Regions from separate parts of the Homo sapiens genome. Here region 1 is linked to region 2. Evidence: promoter capture Hi-C in 16 types of primary human blood cells and fetal thymus (Javierre and others, 2016). All regions are on one chromosome and are shown on one strand. The core of a region is centred on a gene start or on the middle of the fragment in contact, and the rest is flanking DNA. Distances in the headings are between cores, read along the strand shown. Region 1 holds the start of NDUFB4 (NADH:ubiquinone oxidoreductase subunit B4). Region 2 holds the start of TIMMDC1 (translocase of inner mitochondrial membrane domain containing 1).

What was found. Contacts are between HindIII fragments. The CHiCAGO score rates a contact against its expected background, and 5 or more counts as called.
Region 1: a contact is called between the fragment with the promoter of NDUFB4 here and a fragment that was not itself captured in region 2, in 1 of 17 cell types (fetal thymus). The highest score is 6.0, in fetal thymus.

What each region holds. Positions count from the first base shown.
Region 1 is chr3:120,594,043-120,598,103 of GRCh38, reverse strand. NDUFB4 (NADH:ubiquinone oxidoreductase subunit B4) reads right to left here and starts at 1,768. Exons shown (of 3, transcript NM_004547.6): 1 at 1,565-1,768. The coding sequence starts at 1,744. RefSeq lists enhancers at 248-317, 1,358-1,697. The HindIII fragment of the contact is 1,375 bases long and covers 911-2,285 here.
Region 2 is chr3:119,496,874-119,501,194 of GRCh38, reverse strand. TIMMDC1 (translocase of inner mitochondrial membrane domain containing 1) reads right to left here and starts at 2,648. Exons shown (of 7, transcript NM_016589.4): 1 at 2,268-2,648; 2 at 335-500. The coding sequence starts at 2,461. RefSeq lists an enhancer at 2,859-2,908. The HindIII fragment of the contact is 733 bases long and covers 1,391-2,123 here.

The DNA of each region.
Region 1 (4,061 bases), core at 519-3,018, 1.1 Mb before region 2:
TCCAGCCTGGGTGACAGAGTAAGATCCTGTCTCAAGGGAAAAAAAAAAAAAAATTAGGCAAGAGAATTTACATGTATTGATTAATAAATGATAGTGTCACACACTCATTTAATCAACAGAACCAAAGAGACTGGTAGTATTACCTCTATTTACACATGAGAAAATTGAAACTACCCTGAGGCATACAGCTAGAAGACAGAAGATCTTGGTTTCAATTTCAGGTCTGACTGAGGCCTTATTCTTTTTTAATGCATCACACTAACACATCAAACCCAATCATGTGAGTTTGTAATAAATGTGTCTCTCTGCACCCTCTTCCCAAGTTAACAAGGTTCTGGCTGGAGACAGTATAACCAACTAGTTAAAAGCAGATGCTGTGGGTTACACAAACCAGGGTTAGAATTTTGCTCTATCACCTACTAAAGAGGTATCTCTGTATGACCTACTTGTCCTTCCCATGTTGTCTTCTCATCTGTAAAATGGGGACAGTAGTAGAGCTTAATCATCCAAATAGTTGTGATATGTAAATAGTACTCAAAAAGAGTTTTAGCACAGTGCCTGGCACATTGTAACTTTCATTCAATCCTCATAACTTCCAAAAATTCCAAAACACCAATGCAACGTGTGGGAAAAGTCCAGTCCTGTTCTGTTAACATCATATTTAACCTACTTAGTTCCTGTATAGAAAACTACCTAATGAAAGCACACCTGTTAATTACCAGTTTACTGGGCATATATTATGTGCTGCGAATGTTACACAGACTGTCTTATTTAACCTCATAATGCACATCATTTATATACGAAACCAGGAAACTATAATTCAGAGGAGTTGAAGTTGCCCAAGGTAACAGAGTTAGCCAATGAGTAGTGCTTTGGGTTCTGACTCCAAAGCCTAGAACTTCAGCAAGCTTCAGGGTCTTTAAAAGATGCAGGTTGAAGGAATCACTGTATTCCCATCAGGAGAGAGCAGTATCCCTATGAGCTGTGAACTGAAAGGTAAACACCAGCTCTTTAAAATTATATATATATATAAAATATATATGCATATATATAGAATATAATATATATGCATATATATAAAATATATATGCATATATATAGAATATAATATATATGCATATATATAGAATATATATATAATATAATATATATATGCATATATATAGAAACATTTTCTGAACACGCCTTACGAACGAGGCACTGTGCTAGGACAGTCACATACTCTATCTCATTTAATCCTAACAGCCTGATAAAAGAGTAAGCACTATATTACGCCCATTTTGCAGACAGAAAATCGAGGATAAGCAGAGTGAATAACGTTCTTAAGGTCACGCAGGCAGGAAGTGATCAAGCCAGGATTCAAACCCAGCCAGGTCTGAGTCCAGAGCCGGTCCTCTCGAGGGCCAAGCTCTGGCAAAGGTAAAAGGGTAGTGAGTTGGCTAGGCCTGGAAGAGGACCTGCGTCTGAGATACTGATCGGGAGCGGTGGCCGACCCTTTGCGTGGTCTCTCTCGGTCTCTCCCAGGACTCGGGCCCTATTCCCGCCTGGGAGGCCCCACACTCACGATGAGCCCTCGGCGGTTGGGATCGTTGTACTGAAGCAGGTACTCTCGTTTCAGCTGGGCTCTTATGGCCAACCGCTCGGCTTGCGCCCGCCGGGTTTCCGGAGATATGTTGTATTCGGCTGGGTCGAGGGTCTCAGGCAGAGTGCGCAGGCTCGACGGCTTATACTTTGGGAACGACATCTTGGCGAACCAGGGCACAATTGCGCCTGCGCGATTCTGAGGCCCTTTGTCTATGCTGACCTTCAGCTTCAGGAAGTGCGCCTGCGCGTTAGCAGAGGTTGGGGATGTCGTTAACAAGGAGCTCCGCCTCTTTCTCCTACCTTCCCGAACACGGCGCGTTCGCTCGGTGATATGCGCATGCGCGAAGTGCTCTTCTCGCAGTGCGCCCTGCCCCACCGCCGCTCCCCACCTACTCATCTGTCACCGCGCTGCTTCTTCCTAGCAGCCTTGTCTCTACTGACATAACCAGGGCTTATTATGTAAAGTTGAGCTGTGTGGGACTGGCTGTGGAGTCAGAAGTCCGGGTTTTCATTGTGGGTCTAACCGTGCTGTGTCACCTTGGATAAGTCACTTAAAGTCTCTGAGTTTCCTTTTCCTTATCCTGGAGATAATGACTCCTGTCCACCTAGCAAAGTTGTTGTGAGGATTAAATAAGCTAACAAATAGATCACAAAGTGCTTTGCAAAACAGAATTCCCTACCCAAGAAGAAGAGAATAAGCTTTTCTGTACTTTACCATGCTAGATTCATACAACATTAAGTGTAAGCTTATTTTTCACAGGTACGAAATAATGATTAATAGGAAAAATGATGTTATAAGAGAAATGTTGCCTGACTGACTATAGAAGGTCAGGAAGAAAATGAGATACTGAATAAAGCTCATGAGAAAACATCTTAGTTAAAATACTAAAACCTCTTGCCTAAAATCCTTAGCACTCTTCAGATGCAAAGAATTAAAAACATCCTTACAGGTATGAAAATACTCATAGGGGCATGTATCTTATTGTAAAAGACGATCTGGGGCGAAAACTGAAGTAATCAGAAACAAAACCTTCTCTGTCCCTACTGTCCTTCCTTCTCCCCAGTTACCAAGGAGAAAAACAACTTCAAGTTTCACAGCAGGGTCTTTGGGTTCCCCTTCTCCTCAGGGGAAAAAATGTAAACAATATTTCCATAACTCGGGCAAAGAAGGATGGATCAAAAGAGAGCCCCAGCTTGGCTGAAACGTCTGGGGGCGCGTAGGTATGTTGGGAAATGGTTGCTAGAAAAGGGACCTAGAAAGTGTTGGCATTTGAAATGATGAGAAGCAGCACTGCTGTCAAATTTATTCAACATTTTAATACTGTTTTAAAATATTTATTAAGCACCCACCGCGTGAAGCACACAGCACACTAGTCAGTGTTAAGTCAATCTTCTAGGCTCAGTGGGGGAAATCCAGACAAAATGGAAGATGGGGTGTTTGCCTTTCGGGAGCTGACAATCAGGCAGTACAGAAAGAATAGGCAGAAATGGTAATATTTCAAAGTAGTCTAATGTCCAGATGAATATAGAGCAAAATGGACTCATGAGGATTCAGGCTGAGAGAATGTAGAAAAAATGAACACAAGACGAGTTACTCAGACTCGATTTTAAAGGAGAAAAAAAAAGGAAATTCTGACTTGTTCAAAGGTGTTTTGAAATACTAAGAAAATAATACAATATGAAAAGCAAGAGCAGTTTATAAAATTCTAAAGACTACATAAAGTTTCCAAAACCTGTATAGATTAGACACTGATCTAGGAAGGAGAGCATGTAAAAAGAATAAAAGGATAAAGGAATGAGTCCAGCGAGTACGAACTGATGCAGGGCAGGCGAGCCCCAAAGTGGGGCTTAGGCAACCAGGGAACTTGGCTTTGCCCAGGAAAGAATTCAAGGGCAACCCGGAGGTAGAAGAAAACAATTTTATTGAAGAGGCAGTGTTACAGCTTTGGTGGTGTCACAACCGTGACTGCTCCTGTAGAGCAGGGCCACCTCATAGGCAGAAAGCACCAGCTCAGGCCAGCTTTGAGTCACATTTATACCCACATTTGGCAGTTTGGCCGGGCGCGGTGGCTCACGCCTGTAATCCCAGCACTTTGGGAGGCCGAGGCGGGCGGATCACGAGGTCAGGCGATCAAGACCATCCTGGCTTACACGGTGAAACCCCGTCGCTACTAAAAATACAAAAAAAAATTAGCTGGGCGTGGTGGCGGGCGCCTGTAGTCCTAGCTACTCGGGAGGCTGAGGCAGGAGAATGGTGTGAACCAGGGAGGCGGAGCTTGCAGTGAACCGAGATCGCGCCACTGCACTCCAGCCTGGGCGACAGAGCGAGACTCCGTCTCAAACAAACAAACAAACAGACAAAAAAGTAAAGAGGCAGTTTATGCAGACATTTCTAGGGAAGGGGTAGCAACTTTTGGGTCATCAGGTCATTGCCCTGGAAAGGGGTGGTAACTCCTGGGTGTTGCCATGGCAATGAT
Region 2 (4,321 bases), core at 508-3,007:
GAGCTCCTATACTCATGGAGGCTTTGTGAATGAGGTAAATATGTTACAGCTGAGCCTTGACGATTTAGCAGGGGATTGGAAGAAATGTATTTGAGAAAGAAAAGCCACAGTGGTGATGCCAAACATGCCTGTTCTGAAGATAACAAAGTAGTCTCTCAAACAACATGCAGGCACTTTAACATTAGTACTTCCACTGTTATTAAGTACAGACTTTATTTCTTTACTCTGACACCTTAAAACAACCCTCCATCCCCACAACCTAATTGAATGATTAAGTGTAAAGTGAATTACTAAGTCAGTGTGCCCCAAATTTCTTTAGATCACCAGTACATACCACAGCATCAAACCGGTTATGATAAATTTCTGCCTGGCTCTGCTCAATGTATTGTTGTTTAGCATGAATAAAAGCTGGTATTCCCCCATACACCCAGCCAATGATGCCTGCTGTAGCTGCCGTCTTACAGATATTAGCAAGGTCCTTTGAAATTCTCTGCTGTTCACTACAACATCAAAAAGACAATGTTGTTTGGGATTAGTTTATGGACATTGCTCTCCAAGAGACTCTATAATCAGAATTAACCCAAATGCTACCACCACAACATTTTTCATCATAGGTAGAATTCTCAGATGAATTAAACAGTTCAGTTATATTAAAAGGAACGTAGTCTCAGACAAAACGAAGCTATGGTGTTAGAATTAGGATAGTGGCAACTCCTGAAAAGACAATGACCGGAAAAGGCACAAGGGGAGCTTTTGGGATGTTACAATAGTTGCCATTTCTTTCTTAGTGCTGGGTACAGCTATGTTCAGTTTGTGAAAATTCATCCATCAGTATACTTAGGCACATTTTTCGAAATGCATTTCCTACTCCAATAAAAAGTTTTTTAAAAGGTGCTTTTGATGACTATTACACCCCTAGAAATAGGAAGAATTTGTGAGTTGGATAGAGAGACCAATATTTCCGTTTAAATCTTAAGTTAACTTTTAGAAATCACACCAACTCGTGAGATTTTAGGGCAATGTATGAAAGAATAAAAACGTGGATGTAAGACAAAAAATCTAAATTCTATTTTACTAAATAATTTCATGAAATACTCAGATAGGACTGTACTAATAAAAGCACTGGGCTGGGCACAGTAGCACACGCCTGTAGTCACAGCTAACTTAGGAGGCTGAGGTAGGACTTGAGCCCGAGTTCAAATCCAGCATAGCAACATAGCAAAGATCCTGGCTCTAAAAATAAACAAATAAATGTTTTTTTAAAAACGCACTGGGAAAGTTCACTATGCAGTGGGTGGCACATGCCAATCTAAAATAACAAGGAAAAACTACTATTTAATTCGATTTGTTACTCTCAAATGCATAAGAAGCTAGAACTGCTAATGAAGCTTCCAAGATGTCATCCTGAGACTGCTCTAACAAATAGCTGTCTTAAGTATTAAGTTACTATAAAATAATTGCCCTTCTAGGCCGGGCGCAGTCCAGCCGCGGTGGCTCAGGCCTGTAATCCCAGCACTTTGGGAGGCGGAAACAGGCAGATCACGTGAGGTCAGGAGTTCCAGACCAGCCTGGCGAATGGTGAAATCCTGTCTCTACTAAAAATACAAAAATTAGCTGGGCATGGTAGTGGGCAACTGTAATCCCAGCTACTCTGGAGGCTGAGGCAGGAGAACCGCTTGAACCTGGGAAGTGAAGAGTGCAGTGAGCCAAGATCGCACCACTGCACTCCAGCCTGGGCGATAGAGCGCGACTCAGTCTCGAAAAAAAAAAAAAAAAGAAAGAAAAATACGAGTTTGGGCTGGCGCGGTGGCTCACGCCTGTAATCCCAGCACTTTGGGAGGCCGAGGTAGGCGGATCGCCTAAGTCCAAGAGTTCAAGACCAGCCTAGGCAACATGGTAAGAACCCTGTCTATAAAAAATACATTAAAAAAAAATTAGCCGGGCGTGGTGGTGCGCGCCTGTAGTCCCAATTAATCGGGAGGCTGAGGTGGGAGGATCACTTGAGTCCCAGAGGCAGAGGTTGCAGTGAGCCGAGATAGCACCACAGCACTCCAGCCTGGGCGACAGAGCAAGACCCTGTCTGGAAAAAAAAAAAAAAAAAAGAAAGAAAAAAGATACAAGCTTGGGTTACAAATATCAGAACCTCAAATATAATCTAAAAATGAAGCACACCATCCTTGGTGTCCTAAGGCTGACCCAGGCTGCCCACGCTGCAGGACACCGCTTTCGCGGCCCCCTACCCCACTTCACACCCTAGGCACTTTTACTCTTTGCCAAACAGCTCCCGGAGGCGGTCCCATCCAGATTCCGGGTAATAGGGCTCTGGGACGTAGGGAAGCCGCTTCTGACGCTCCTCAAGGACTTCCGAATCGGCAGTCACAGCTTCGGCAGCAAAGACTCGGGGAAATAGGCACAATGCTCTACAGAGAAAGCTCCGCGGTGCCGGTGGCGGCACCTCCATGGCCTTCTCTCGACCTACGGACAAACTTGAGCGCTCAGGACTTCAAGTCCTCGCGGACGTGCCGCGGGAGAGCGTAACTGTACGAGGTGAGAATCCGTGCATTTGACCCAGGTTAACCCTCTGCCAGAGGGCTCGACACCCACACCTTCAGTCCCCGGCCTCGCTTTGGAGTCCTTGGAAATACGACACAGGAAGTCCCGCCCGACCGGGGCAAAGGCCAGGGGGCGGGGCGACGGCGAAGCCGGAGCCCAAAAGACTTCCGGTTGAGGGCGGGTTGGGCCACTGCTGTGCTGAGTGCACCCCCGGAAGTGAGTTGGCTGCCAGTAGTGAAGCTCAGCGTGGTCCCGGCAGGCCTTCGCTCCGTGTTTGTGGTTCCTGGGTCATGCAAACGGTGTCTGCGGCTACTTATATTCAGCTTGAGGTGGTCATAGGTTGAAGTAATTTATCGTATTTAAAATGCCAGGAATTAGCCGGGCATGGTGGCGGGCGCCTGTAATCCTAGCTACTCGGGAGGCTGAGGTAGGAGAATCGCTTGAACCCGGGAGGCGGAGGTTGCAGTGAGCCGAGATCACACCACTGCACTGCAGCCTGGGCAACAAGAGCGAAAATCTGTCTCAAAAAAAAAAAAAAAAGGCAGGAATCCCGCTTCAGTAAGGAAGAAAGTGCAATATTCAGTGCAAGTGGAGTAGGGAAAGAGGGAAAGGCGATTTGTGCAAAAACAAGTCCAACCTACTCTGCCAACATTAGAGAAGCCTTCCAGGCTGGGCGGGGTCCGTTTGTACCTTGTCAGTTCTGCTGGAAAAAAAACGAGGCATTGGGGATGGGTGTTGGTGCCAGTTACACTAAGATTTCGAGAACACTTTTTTGAAGAATCAGCTTTTTGGCAGGTCTTCCTAAGGTGGATTTCACTCCCTTTAGTTCATATGCCTACTGCTTCTCAAAAGGCAGGAGAATTTCTGGAATTTCTATCAAGTGTTTGTATAATTTGCCGTCACTACAACCTCTGCTAACATATGCTTCGAAGTACAGTTTTCATTAAAATGAATGCATTTAAAATATTCTCAATATTCGTGTAATTTCATTCAATCCTTGTTAACAAGCATACTCCCTTATTCATTTTGCCAATCCCTTCACCTCCTTGATTCCTTTCTAGTTGTCAATCAAAACTGCCACACTGTAGTAGAATACAGTAAGTGGACTTAGGAATTTGATAGCTGGAAATGCTACACATAAGTCCCTGAGAAGTGACTGACTAGAGTGACCAGCTCAATTAGTGACAGCGCCATGAAGACTACTCTGGGATATGAGATTTGATTCAGCACTCATCGTAGCACTTACAACACTGCATCATAATTTCCTATTAATCTGTCTCAATAAACTATCCTTGAGATCACAGACCAAATATATTCATCTCTGTATCTCCAGGACCTAGAACCGCAGTAGGTGCTCAGTAAATATTTGTTGAATAATTCAGATCTCCTGACTTCTGGCTCTGGATTACTGCTTATCCCATGTTAGGTAGAAGTGGGCACCAAGATAAGTTACCAAGGCCTGAAAGCCCAAGAAAATGGCTGTACAGTCTGTTTCTAACCTATATGTAGAAAAAGCTAAATGCATAAGATGACCCCAGAATTATTCTGGGGTGAAGGAGGACTTGAAATGGGTAGGAGGGTTTGGGTGGGTGTTGGGAAGATACTGACACAATCACTTATGTACAACTCAAATGCCCCAGGATTCACTAGCCTGTAGATGAGGTAATATTAACAGGCAAATTTTAAATTCCATAACTTGTTTCTCATTTGGGTAACGGAAGACTCATTTGTAATGTTCCTTTTGCCACCTGATAACTCAAAAAACTCC